2 separate regions of the Homo sapiens genome follow, and region 1 is linked to region 2. Evidence: promoter capture Hi-C in 16 types of primary human blood cells and fetal thymus (Javierre and others, 2016). All regions are on one chromosome and are shown on one strand. Each heading gives the region's core, a stretch centred on a gene start or on the middle of the fragment in contact. The rest is flanking DNA. Distances are from core to core; before and after follow the strand shown.

The links. The method cuts DNA at HindIII sites, captures the fragments that hold promoters and counts their contacts. A CHiCAGO score of 5 or more calls a contact.
Region 1: a contact is called between the fragment with the promoter of ZNF714 here and the fragment with the promoter of PBX4 in region 2, in 1 of 17 cell types (M0 macrophages). The highest score is 5.1, in M0 macrophages.

Annotation. Positions count from the first base shown.
Region 1 is chr19:21,078,023-21,084,430 of GRCh38, reverse strand. It overlaps ZNF714 (zinc finger protein 714), which reads right to left and starts at 2,228. Exons shown (of 5, transcript NM_182515.4): 1 at 2,083-2,228; 2 at 362-453. RefSeq lists an enhancer at 1,740-1,889. The HindIII fragment of the contact is 3,534 bases long and covers 785-4,318 here.
Region 2 is chr19:19,614,520-19,621,431 of GRCh38, reverse strand. PBX4 (PBX homeobox 4) reads left to right here and starts at 2,745. Exons shown (of 8, transcript NM_025245.3): 1 at 2,745-2,921. The coding sequence starts at 2,803. RefSeq lists a silencer at 2,754-2,963. The HindIII fragment of the contact is 7,939 bases long and covers 786-6,912 here.

The DNA of each region.
Region 1 (6,408 bases), core at 979-3,478, 1.5 Mb before region 2:
AGCTCTTACACCATCTCAGTTAACCTTGCTGATGGCTATGGGTGACAGAATTAGGCATCTACAAGACCATAGGACATGGGGATCTTTTTCTTCTCCAAAAGGGAAAACTTAAGTGCTAATGGAACTGCTGGAAAAAATCCTGACTGCTGGAGTCAGGTTTTTTGTGTTTTTTGTTTGTTTGCTTGATTTTTTTTTTCTTTTTTGGTCTTTTGGGATACTATTTTTTCTGTCACAATTTTTTTTTCTTTTTAACACTATTTTTTCTTTCACTACATTTATTTCATTATATTTCTACCCCTTAGACAATCCAGGAGGCAGATGTTATTTCTGTGTTTTCCCCTCAGTACCAGCATCTGATTACCTTTTCAAAGTAAGAGTACACTAGAAGCTTCCTCTCTGCCCCAGGGATCCACTTGCTCCCTTGAGAGGATACACTCCAGACCTCAGGTCGCCCTATGGAAGAAAATAAACCAGAAGCTGATATTCACTAGGCACTTTAGCTGACATAACCATGGTGGATATCTTGGTTGATCCCCAGACAGTACTGAAACCCACGACCAGAAAAAAACTAAAGGGTGGCTGAGGACACATCACCTCATAAAGGTTTCAAAGGAATACCTTGACCCAAAAACATTCTGACAAGATCTTTGTACCTAGAGAAGATACAAGGAGAAGAGGCACAGAGAAATTTTACAATACAGTGTCAGGGGATTATTCTTTGCTTTCTTCTCATGGGAAAGTTACAAACAGGTAACAAACCTTTTAAAAAGCGTCATTTAAAGCTTTGTCAAAAAATAATTAATTAAAATATGGTATACAAAAGTACACTAAAAGACAAACAGGTGATAACGTGAATTAGGGAGGAAAAGCTGGCATTAGGGAATGCCAGGAGGAACTGGAAATTTAATATCTTACTGCAAGCCAGAGTGAGGCTGGAGATATGGGGGACGGGAGGTTAGATTTAAGACAGTGCTTGGGACACAGTTGAAAAATGCACCAGAAAATCAGTTCCCCATGGAGTGTGAAAATAATTAAGCGGCGGGAAATTAGACTGAGGTGTCTCTAGTCCCTGGATTCCTACTTTTAAAAAAATCTGGCTGGGCGCGGTGGCTCACGCCTGTAATCCCAGCACTTTGGGGAGGCCGTGGAGGGCAGATCACCTGAGGTCGGGAGTTCGAGACCAGCCTGACCAACATGCAGAAACCCGTCTCTACTAAAACCACAAAATTAGACGGGCGTGGTGGCGCATGCCTGTAATCCCAGCTACCTGGGAGGCTGAAGCATTGGATCGCTTGAACCCGGGAGGCAGAGGTTACGGTGAGACAAGATCGCCCCATTGCACTCCAGCCTGGGCAACAAGAGCGAAACTCCATCTTAAAAAAAAAAAATCTAACTGAGGTGCATTTTTAGTAAATTACTACATTGAGAGAAACAAAATTCATCCTTAACCAACTATAAACTGCCAATTAACATCTAATTACATAACCAGGAAATTTTCACCTTTATTTTACAAATTAAGAAACTATGTATCTGAACCTAACCAATTACTGAATTTGGTTTTCTTCATCATGCTGTTTATAAAAGTCTTTACTTCAAGCCCCGCCCATAAACCATAAATTACAAACCACAGCTGGGTGCTCCACAATTTTTGAATCACGCTTTGATTAAATGCTTTAGTGTTTTAACGGTGACTCCCATACATTTTCAACAGAAGAGGAACTGGAACCCCACGGACCCATTCATAAACCCGCACCCCGAGTCAGGATTCTACCCCTGGGACCCTCCAGTGGTCCCTGCACAATCCGGGAGAGACGCGCCGCTGAGGGTCCAGAGCTGCCCTGAGAGGACTCCAGGTCAGGGCCCAGTCACTGCGCAGGGAAAAGACAGGACGCCCGGGATCCCGCAGTCAGCGCAGCCGCCATCTTATGGCTGAAGGGGACTGAGGCCGAGCTGAGCAAGGAGAACTCCGGGCGCAGATTGTAGAGTTGACTGCGGGGAGGCCTAAGTCCCACCACAGCCACTTCCCACCGCTTACAACCCGCCCCTTCCCCTCTCTCGGGATGTCGGACCCGGCACTCTCACCATTTCTAGGCTTCCGGGGTACCTGGCGTCTTAGCTGTGGATCTCTCAATACCTGCAGGTCACAGGGCCACAGAGGCTGGGCCTCTGCGAGCAGAGGACACAGGGCAGTGAAGGCGAGACCTGCAGCTCCAGCTGCAGCGAGAGACAAAGGCCCCGCCACATCCCCGAAGCCGTCCTGTCCGCTCCAGCTGCAGGCCTGATTGGACGGTTCCCAACCCAGCGTCGCTGATTGGATAACTTTTAAAACCCCACCTTCTCGTGCCCTGAGTGACAGAAGATGTGATCAGTTGCTGGGCTGAGTGAAGAAAGGGTGACAGCCTAGGCTGCAGCCTTCTCAGGCAGGGCTTCCTCCCAGAGCTGAGCCAGGCCCACCCCAGAGGGAATTTGCCTTTAAACTTGTGTGTAAAGTCATATGCATTTATAAATAATATATGGCTCTTCACAAAGGAAAAAATATAATTTTATAATAACAATTATTTTAAAATTTCAGATTTTATGACCTTCCTGGCTTCTTTCTGGTCTTTGAGCAGGCAGGCTGAGATTTTAGAAAGGAGGTAATCCTCTGAAATAAAATGTGAGCCATATGTGAATTTTAAGTTTTCTAGTAGCCAAACTTGAAAAAGAAACAAGAACAGGTTGAATTGATTGTAACAATTTAATTAACCCAATATATCAAAAAAATTTTCATTTTAATGTGTGAGAAATATGTAATTATTAATAAAGTATATAAATATTTGGAACTAAATCTTTGAAACTAACTCTGTATTTTACCTTTCTAGCATCGCACTTCAGACCAGGCGCCACACATGGCCAATAACTGCCACATTGAAGTGCAGCTCTGATGTCAGCGGTGTGAAGGGCCCAAGCAAACCTTTTCTGCCAGAGGTGAAGGAAGAGCCTCTCCCTACCAACATCTCTCTTCCGTTCCGGGGGTGGAACAGATAGTGGCCAAAGAAAGAGGAGACGGCAGCAGGAATAAAATAATTACAAGTAAAGCACTGCTGGATGAGATCACAGGCGCGCGCCACCATGCTCGGCTAATTTTTTGTATTTTTAGTAGACACGGGGTTTCACCATGTTGGCCAGGCTGGTCCTGAACTCCTGACCTCAGGTGATCTGCCCGCTTTGGCCTCCCAAAGTGTTGGGATTACAGGCGTGAGCCACCGCACCCAGCCTCAAAATGTTTTTTCTTTCTTTTTTTTTAATTTTAAAAAATGATGGGAACATGTCAAAGGGAGCCAGCCTGAAAGAACTCCCAATGGTCCATCCTGGAACAATGTTAGCATCCAAATGAATAATTAGAGCACTGACCTATAAAATAAATCAAGTCAAATAAATAAATACCCATGCATTTACACTGATACACAAAAAACTTTAAATAAATAAAAAAGAAAAAAGGATAGGGAAATTTTTTTTTACAGAATTCCAAATACTAATCAACATAGATAAAATGCTAAAGAAACCATCACAAAACCACCAGTTATTATTGTATCCAAGGTTAACTGAGGAGTGTAAAAATTGTAAATAACACTTAAAAAATAAGCATTGTATTTGCATAGCACCAAAGTATCTGACTAAATTGTACCCTTCAGTTTTAAAGCAACCTATCACTATTAAAAGCAACAATTATGACTCTTTGTTACTGGATTTATAATATGTAGATGTAAAATTGTAAAAGCACCACAAAAGATCAACGAATAAAATAGAATCGCCCAGGCACGGTGGCTCACGCCTGCAATCCCAGCACTTTGGGAGTCCGAGGTGGGTGGATCAAGAGGTCAGGAGTCCGAGACCATCCTGGCTAACAAGGTGAAACCCTGTCTCTACCAAAAATACAAAAACTTACCTGGGTGTGATGCCGCACGCCTGTATTCCCAGCTACTCGGGGGGCCGAGGCAGGAGAATCGTTTGAACCCGGGAGGCGGAGGTTACAGTGAGCCGAGATCGCGCCACTGCACTCCAGCCTGGCGACAGAGGGAGACTCTGTCTCAAAAAAAAAAAAAAAAAAAAAAAGAGCTGCCTGGGCAACATAATAAGACCCCATCTCTACAAAAAAAAAAAAAAAAAAAAAAAATTAATTAGCCACTGTAGTGGTGTGTACGTGAAGTCCCATTTACCAAGGAGGCTGAGAGCTAAGAATTTTGAGGTTTGATTGAGCTGCACTCTGGCCAAGATGACAGAGCTGTCTACAAATACATACACACATGTGTAAAATATAACACTTTTTTAAAAAGCTTGCAAGTTCTTTTATGATCCCGTGTCTGTGCATTACTGTAATAATATGGATTAGAAGCAGAATAACTGTATCCAATATGGAGTTTGAGAGAAAACAGAAATATATCATCTGTACTTCAGGTGTCCTGATAAGGATCAGCGGAGGGTTCTGCCCTCTGACTTTATCTCTACTAAATGCATGAGAGGCAGAGTTTTTTTGTTTTGTTTTTTGTTTGTTTGTTTGTTTGTTTTGAGACGGAGTCTCGCTCTCTCACCCACGCTGGAGTGCAGTGGCACAATCTCAGCTCACTGCAAGCTCCGCCTCCCGGGTTCACGCCATTCTCCTGCCTGAGCCTCCGGAGTAGCTGGGACTACAGGCGCCCGCCACAACGCCCGGCTACTTTTTTGTCTTTTTAGTAGAGACGGGGTTTCACCATGTTGGCCAGGCTGGTCTCTAACTGCTGACCTCGTTATCCGCCTGCTTTGGCGTCCCAAAATGTTGGGATTACAGGCGTGAGCCACCGCACTCGGCGAGGCAGAGTTTTTAACATAATTTTTTTTTTTTTTTTTTTTTTTTTGAGACGGAGTCTCGCTCTGTCACCCAGGCTGGAGTGCAGTGGCTCGATCTCGGCTCACTGCAACCTCCGCCTCCCAGGTTCAAGCGATTCTCCTGCTTCAGCCTCCAAAGTAGCTGGAACTATGGGCACGCGCCACCACGCCCAGCTAATTTTTTTTTGTATTTTTAGTAGAGACGGGGTTTCACAATGTTGGCCAGGATGGTCTCGATCTCTTGACCTCGTGATCTGCCTGCCTCGGCCTCCCAAAGTGCTGGGATTACAGGCGTGAGCCACTGCGCCCGGCCAACATAAATGATTTTAACACAAGCAATATTCTGTAATATTAACGGACATAGAGGTTTTGTACTGATTATGATTTTTGAAATTTTTATGCCCTGGTAGACCAGATAGATCATCTCTGTCAACATCATTTTGTTAATAGCATTTTCAACCTATTCTGCTTCCATCCTCTCTTTTATTTTAAAAAGACATAGATGCTAGAAAACACCATTTCTACTGAAGGCAGAAAAAGCAAACACAAATTTCAGTATTTACAAGTCACATTTATGAATATGTTTCCTAATTAGGGAGTTAAAACTTCAACTTTCAAAGAAAATGGTATAGGCAGCTGGGCACAGTGGCTCACGCCTGTAATCCCAACACTTTGGGAGGCTGAGGCGGGTGGATCACCTGAGGTCAGGAGTTCAAGACTAGCCTGACCAACATGGAGAAACCCCGTCTACTAAAAATACAAAATTAGCCGCACGTGGTGGCGCATTCCTGTAATCCCAGCTACTCAGGAGGCCGAGGCAAGAGAATCGCTTGAACCTGGGAGGTGGAGGTTGTGGTGAGCCGAGATCGCGCCACTGCACTCCAGCCTGGGCAACAAGAGCAAAAACTTCATCTCAAAAAAAAAAAAAAAAAAAAATGGTAAGGGGCAAACATAAAGAACATTTTTATTATAAAAAATTATCCGCCGGGGGCGGTGGCTCACGCCTGTAATCCCAGCACTTTGGGAGGCCGAGGCGGGTAGATCACGAGGTCAGGAGATCGAGACCATCCTGGCTAACACTAAATTATAAATTATAAAACAAGCCTCTACTAAAAATACAAAAAATTAGCCGGGCGCCGTGGCAGGCGCCTGTAGTCCCAGCTACTCGGGAGGCTGAGGCAGGAGAATGGCGTGAACCCAGGAGGCGGAGCTTGCAGTGAGCTGAGATGGAGCCACTTCACTCTAGCCGGGGTGACAGAGCGAAACTCTGTCTCAAAAAAAAAAAAAAAAAAAAATTAAAAAAACTATCCAGTCTCTATATTTTGCAAATTATTTTTCTCTCATCACTAAGCAATTTCACCTAAACTAATATACAACCAATTTTATAAGTTTAGCTTTTTTAAATAAAATAAAATAATAAAACCGAATTAATTTAAGACAACATGAAAAATTATAATACATATTACAAGCCCCCATTCAGGTAAAGTATTAACAATGAAGATTTGATAAATGGCAAATGTCACATTTTCAGATAGTTTTGTGATAACCAGAAAAAAATGTATC
Region 2 (6,912 bases), core at 1,496-3,995:
GGAGGCCCCCTCCAAGGCACAGTGTGTGCCAGGATGTCATTCTCTGCTCCCACCTCACCAGTGAGGAGGTGGGGTTATGTCCCTACTTTTGAATCCCATGCTGAATAACAGCTAGAATTTGAACCCAGGTCACTCAGAGATGTGAGCCGCCATGCCCAGCCACCTGTGCCAAATTCTTAAACCACTGAAATATGCATTGTCAAAGAACCCAAAACTCCCAGGTCCTTCTATATTAAATGGCCCTGGCCGAGCACTTTGAGTGCCAAGGCTGCCAACTAATTTCTATGCAGTAGAGACCCCTGATGACCTCCAAATGGCAACAGTGGGACGGGTGAGGTGGCTCATACCTGTAATCCCAGCACTTTGGGCGGCCGAGGCAGGCAGATCACCTGAGGTCAGAAGTTTGAAACTAGCCTGGCCAACATGGTGAAACCTCATTTCTACTAAAAATGCAAAAATTAGCCGGGCGTGGTGGTGGGTGCCTGTAAGCTACTCAGGAGGAGGCTAAGGCAGGAGAAGTGCTTGAACCCAGGAGGTGGAGGTTGCAGTGAGCCAAGGTCACGCCACTACACTCCAGCCTGGGCAACAGAGTAAGATTTCTGTCTAAAAAAAAAAAAAAAAAAAAAAGGCAACTCTGTCTCAGGCGCTCTGAGCTGGCTGTTCACATCAGCTCCTCCAGGTTTTAACCTGCACCCCGTGGGTCTCCTTCGAGACCATTTCCTCTTGTCGATCTCCCGTCTCCACCAAGTGGCTTCAAATTTTTGTCTCTGCTGGTCCCTGAAGCTTTCAGTGCCCACCCCTCCAAGTTCTCTGAAGGATACTACTTTGTTGGGGTTGGGGGCAGGTTTTGCTCTCTCACCCAGGCTGGAGTGCAGTGGCACAAACACAGCTCACTGTAGCCTCGACCTCCTGAGCCCAACTTATCCTCCCGCCTCAGCCTCCCAAGTAGCTGGGACCATGACCAGCTAATTTAGCTATTTTTTTAATTTTTATTTTTGTAGAGATGGGGTCTCACTATGTTCCCCAGACTGGTCTTGAACTCCTGGGCTCAAGTAATCTCCCACCTCAGACTCCCAAAGTGTTGGGATCATAGGTGTCAGCCACTGCACCCAGCCTGAAGGCCACTACTGTTCAGGCCTCCTGGGCAGTGCTGTGCTTGTGGGTGACCTTTTGAACAGGCACTGGTCTCCGTGGCTCCCATGCAATCTATTACTTTCTGTCATTGGAGCCAAGTGTCGGTTTCCTTCATCAGAGAGCTTTCCCTATTGTCCAGACACTCGGTCAATGTCTTTCATTTTTCACTCCCTGCCGTCCCCTTTGGAGTCTCCCGACGCTCTCCAATCCAGCCATACCAGATGGTGTTTGAATTTCCTCCCCAGCAGCAATGGAGAGAACGTGGGCCCCACCCTGGAAGGGCTCCCAGCCAGCAGGCTGAGGACCTTTTACTGAGCCCACATCTGGAGACTGTCCTCATAGCAAATAGGCTCCAGGAGGTTCTGTGACTTTGGAGAAGAGATTCATGTCCAGGCCATTACTTTTTTTTTTTTTTTTTTTTTTTGAGACCTGGTCTCCGTCAACCAGGCTGCAGTGCAGTGGTGCAATCATGGCTCACTGCAGCCTCAAATTCCCAGGCCCAAGTGATCCTCCCACTTCAGCCTCTCAAGTCCCAAATAGCTGGGACCACAGGCGTGCACCACCACGGGGTCTCACTATGTTGCCCAAGCTGGTCTCAAACTCCCGTGCTCAAGTGATCCTCCCGCCTCTGCCGCCCAAAGTGCTAGGATTACAGGCATGAGCCACCGCCCAGTTCCTTTTCTTGTGCACTAGGAGCCTTCGATGCTGTGTCCTAAGGACTAGAAACAAAGATGTGAGGATTCGCTCTGATTTGGGGTACACTGCAGGGGAGTCTCTCAGTAAACATCCTTCCTTCATTCGGTAACCACGTGGTAGCATTTTCTATGCCCAGAACTGTAATCTGCGAAGATGAATAAACAAGCGAGGTCACTCTTCAGCTGGACCTTGAAAGGTGACTGGAATTGATTTCTGCAGTGGAGAAAAGCGCTGCGTTCTGACCTCCTCGTTGCCATCAACCACGCACGCCTGCGCCCCGCCTTAGCCAGGTGAACGGGGCGTGGAAAGCTCTAGAGGAAGAGCCAGGGGCCCCAGTGGCCCACCTGATGGGGCTGAGGATGCAGGGAGCATTAGGGGGACTGAGCAGGGGTCTGGGGCTTGGGGCTTCTGGAAATGAATGGGGGCTGTCGATCAAGCTATAAGAGGTGTGGGGTTCTGAGGAGGAGGGGGTGGCTTGGAGGAAGAGTTGGGGTGCTCTGGGGAGTGAGGGTCTCTGAGGACCGAGGGCTTTGAGGAGAAGGGGGCCCTGAGGAGGAGCAGGAACTCTGAGGAGATGCGAGTGGGGCTGAAGGAGGCGTGCACCGCGCGAGATGTGAGGGATGGGGGCCTCTGGCTGGAGCGGAGCCAGCGCTGCCCTCTCTCAAGGGGAAGGAGGGCGCTTATGAGAAGTGCCGTTGCCTCGGCAACCCCAAACCCAGTCCAAGCCCGGAGAGGGGGAAGTTCGGGGCGAGTCCCGGGGGCGGTGCGTGGCGCCGGTTGGCTGACGGAGATGAAGGGGCGTGTCTGTAGGCGGTGCAATACACGGGTTGGCTGGCGATAGCGGCGGTGGGCGTGGCTTAGGCGCGAGCGAGAGCGGGCGCGGCGCTCAGGCAGCGGCGGTTGGCTGCGGCGCCAGTGGTAGTGCTCCAGGCTCGACGGCACCCTCACAGCGCCCGCCCGGCCCTGCCGCTCATGGCCGCCCCGCCGCGCCCCGCGCCATCGCCCCCCGCCCCGCGGCGCCTCGACACGAGCGACGTCCTGCAGCAGATCATGGCCATCACCGACCAGAGCCTGGACGAGGCACAGGCCAGGTGCTGCCCGCGGGCTCGGCAGGGGCCACGCAGGGTCGTGGCAGTGAGGTTGGCGGGCTGAGGGGACGGGGCGTGGAGGCCAGACTGACGAGGGGCGCTTGAGGAGGGCTGGAGGGGGGTCCCGAGGACGAAGGGATGTATGGGGTTCAAACGGAACGGGCTGGATAGGCCTTATGGGGCCGAGCAGTGGCGTGAAGGATTTTCAGCAGCTCATCTTGGGGCGAGAAGGTTGGGTTTAGGGGTTTAGGGAGTAGGGCTGAGAAATGGGCACGTACGGGACTTTTGACGAGTGAATGACTAAATGGGTACGTTAATGGGACTCCTGCGGCTGGAAGTTTTTTTGTTGTTGTTTGACACGGTCTTGCTCTGTCGCCCAGGCTGGAGTGCAGTGGCGTGATCATGGCTCACTGCAGCATCCACCTCCCCGGCTCAGTTGATTCTCCTGCCTCAGCCTCCCGAGTAGCTGGGACCACAGGCGCACGTGCAACCACGCCCGGCTGATTTTTTTGTATATTTTGTAGAGACAGGGGTCTCGCTATAGTTGCTTAAACTCCTGGGTTCAAGCACTCATTCCGTCTCGGCCTCCCTAAGTGCTGGGATTACAGGCGCGAGCCACCGAGCCCGGCCTGTGGGTGGGAAGTTTCCAGGGCAGATGATGGAGAGTGAGTGGCTGGGAATGGGACTCAGGAATGTCTGCAGGAGACTGAAGAACTGAACTGGGGTAACTTGGTGTGGGAACCATCGAGAACTTTTGGGAAAAGGGTTAGTAGAGGAGTGGGTGGAGATGGAAGACCTATTTTCTTTTTAATGAATTCAGCAAATTTTTATTGAATCCTTACAATAACTGGATAGGGAACCGGGTGCTGACATAGTCCCTGCTCTCGAGTACATGATTTAGGGGAGGGAATGTAAATAGCAAAAAATAAGGACTGGGTGGAGTGGCTCACATCTCTAATCACAGCACTTTAGGAGGCTGAGGCAGGAGGATTGCTTGAGCTCAGGAGTTCGAGACCAACCTGGACAATGTAGTAAGACCTCGTCTCTACTAAAAATAAAATTAAAAAATTAGTTAGGTGTGATGATGCAAGCCTGTAGTCCCAGCTACTTAGGAGGCTGAGGCTGCAGTGAGCCGAATCAAGCCATTGCACTCCAGCCTGGGTGACAGAGCTAGACCCTGTCTCAAACAAAAGCAAAAAAGTATAAGCCAGGCATGGTAGCATGGGTAGGTAATCCCAGCTGCCTCCCAGTGGGAGGATCACTTGAGTCCAGCAGTTTGAGACCAGCCTGGGCAACATAGTGAGACCATCCTGTACCAATCTGAGAAAAGAAAAAAATAAAATAAATGGCAATAAAAGCTGTAGGGATAGGGGTTGCATGCTATAGGAAGCCAGGTGGAGAAGAACATCTTTGGAGAGGACAGCACCTTCAGAGGCCCTGAGGTGGGAAAGAGGATGTAAAAAGCGGAGTCTGGCTGGGAAGAGAAAGTTCCTAGCCAGGGAGGGAAAGAGTTGAGTTTAAAGGAAGGCTGGGGCCAGGTGCGGTGGCTCACGCCTGTAATCCCAGCACTTTGGGAGGCCAAGGCAGGTGAATCACGAGGTCAGGAGTTCAATACCAGCCTGGCCAACATGGTGAAACCCAGTCTCTACCAAAAATACAAAAATTAGCTGGGTGTAGTGGTGCACACCTATAATCCCAACTACTTGGGAGGCTGAGGCAGGAGAATCACTGGAACCTGGGAGGCGGAGGCTGCAGTGAGCCGAGATCACACCACTGCACTCCAGCCTGGGCGACAGAGCGAGATTCCGTCTGAACAAAAAATAATAATAATAATAAAGGGAGACTGGAACCCAATTACATGGGGCCTACGAATCTCAGTAAAGAGTTTTGTTTGTTCAGCCAGGCACAGTGGCTGACACCTGTAATCCCTGCACTTTGGGAGGCCAAGGTGGGCAGATCACCTGAGGTCAAGAGTTCGAGACCAGCCTGGCCAACATGGCAAAACCCCATCTCTACTAAAAATACGAAAATTAGCTGGGCGTGGTGGTGCATGTCTATGGTCCCAGCTACTTGGGAGGCTGAGGCAGGAGAAACACTTGAATCCAGGAGGTGCCTGGGTTCAAGCGCCACTGCATTCCAACCTGGGCGACAGAGTGAGACTCTGTCTCCATAAAAAAATAGTTTTGTTTTTGTCATCTGGATAACAATCAATAGGGAGTTCGGACTATTTATTCCAGTTGCAATGGGGAAAAATAAAGGAGTTTTTAGACCTCCCATCCCGTTTACCTCCACTCACCACTTGTCAGCCAGCCAGGATCCGTAGAATCTGCTTCACAAGGCAGCCCACTGTGTCTGGGTCCTGCAGTGATTATTACAGAAAAGGAAAGGAAAGGACTGAAGTCCTTTTGGAGGATGAGGCCTTGTTGAATGGGGACTGTTGTAAGGTGAGGGACGGTCTCTGGGTATGGGACTAGGGTCTGGTGGTGTGGACTGTGTACCCACTAGAGCCCTGTAGTGGGGAGGGGTTACAAAGCCAGGTAAACAGCAGTCCTAGGAAGGAAGAGGCAGATAAAAAGGTGGATAATGCATGCATTTGTTCTTCAATGAATTGTGTGTGTGTGTGTGTGACGGACTCTCACTCTGTTGCCCAGGCTGGAGTGCAGTGGCGCTATCTCGGCTCACTGCAACCTCTGCCTCCCGGGTTCAAGCGATTCTCCTGCCTCAGCTTCCTGAGTAGCCGGGACTACAGGCATACGCCCCATGCGTGGCTAGTTTTGTATTTTTAGTAGAGATGGGGTTTCACCGTGTTGGCCAGGCTGGTCACAAATTCCTGACCTTAGGTGATCTGCCTACCTCAGCCTCCCAAAGTGCTGGGATTACAGGCGTGAACTACTGTGCCTGGCCTGTTCTTCAATGAATTTTTAACAAATTTGGCCGATATTTATCGGACCTTTACAATATCTGGGTACTGAACTGGGTTCTGGCATAGCTCTCAAGTTCTTCCTGCTCTCAAGTTCATGGTTTGGGGAGAGAAAGTAAATTTGTTCTTCAAACTTTCTTTCCTTTGCTTCTCAGGGAATGTTGACACTTTTTGTAGTTTCAGATGCTCTGTTTGAGAAATTAGAGTCCTTGTCACCATACAACTATTTCTTTGGCTTTTTTTTTTTTATATAAGGCCGCGCTCTGTCACCCAGGCTAGAGTGCAGTAGTGTCATCATGACTCACTGCAGCCTCAACCTTCTGGGCCCAAGCAATCTTCACACCTCAGCTTCTTGAGTAGCTAGGACCACAGGCCTGTGCCACCACGCCTGGCTAATCTTTCTTTTTTTTTTTTTTTTTTTTTTTTTTGGAGACAGGGTCTCACTCTGTCACCCAGACTGGAGTGCAGTGGTGCAGTCTCAGCTCACTGCAACCTCTGCCTCCCAGGCTCAAGCAATTCTCCTGCCTCAGCCTCCTGAGTAGCTGGGATTACAGGCGTGTGCCACTACCGCCTGGCTAATTTTTTTTTGTATTTTTAGTAGAGACAGGGTTTCACCGTATTGGCTAGGCTGGTGTTGAACTCCTGACCTCAAATGATCCACCCACCTCGGCCTCCCAAAGTGCTGGGATTACAGCCCTGAGCCACCACACCTGGACTAATCTTTCTATTTTTTTAGGTCTCCCTATGTTGGCCAGGCTGGTCTCAAACTCCTGAGTTAAGAAATCCTCCCGCCTCAGCCTTCCAAAGGTCGAGGATTTCAAACATGAGCCACTGAGCCTGGCTCCTCCAACTGTTTTCATTGTGGTTTTTTGTTTGTTTGTTTGTTTTTGTTTGTTTGTTTGGCTGTTTTTTGGTTTGGTTTGGGTTTTTTTGAGACGGAGTCTCATACTCTGTTGTCCAGGCTGGAGTGCAGTGGCGCGATCAGGCTGGAGTGCAGTGGCGCGATCTCGGCTAGTGAGCAACCTCCGCCTCCCGGGTTCAAGTGATTCTCCCATCTCAGTTTCCCAAGTAGCT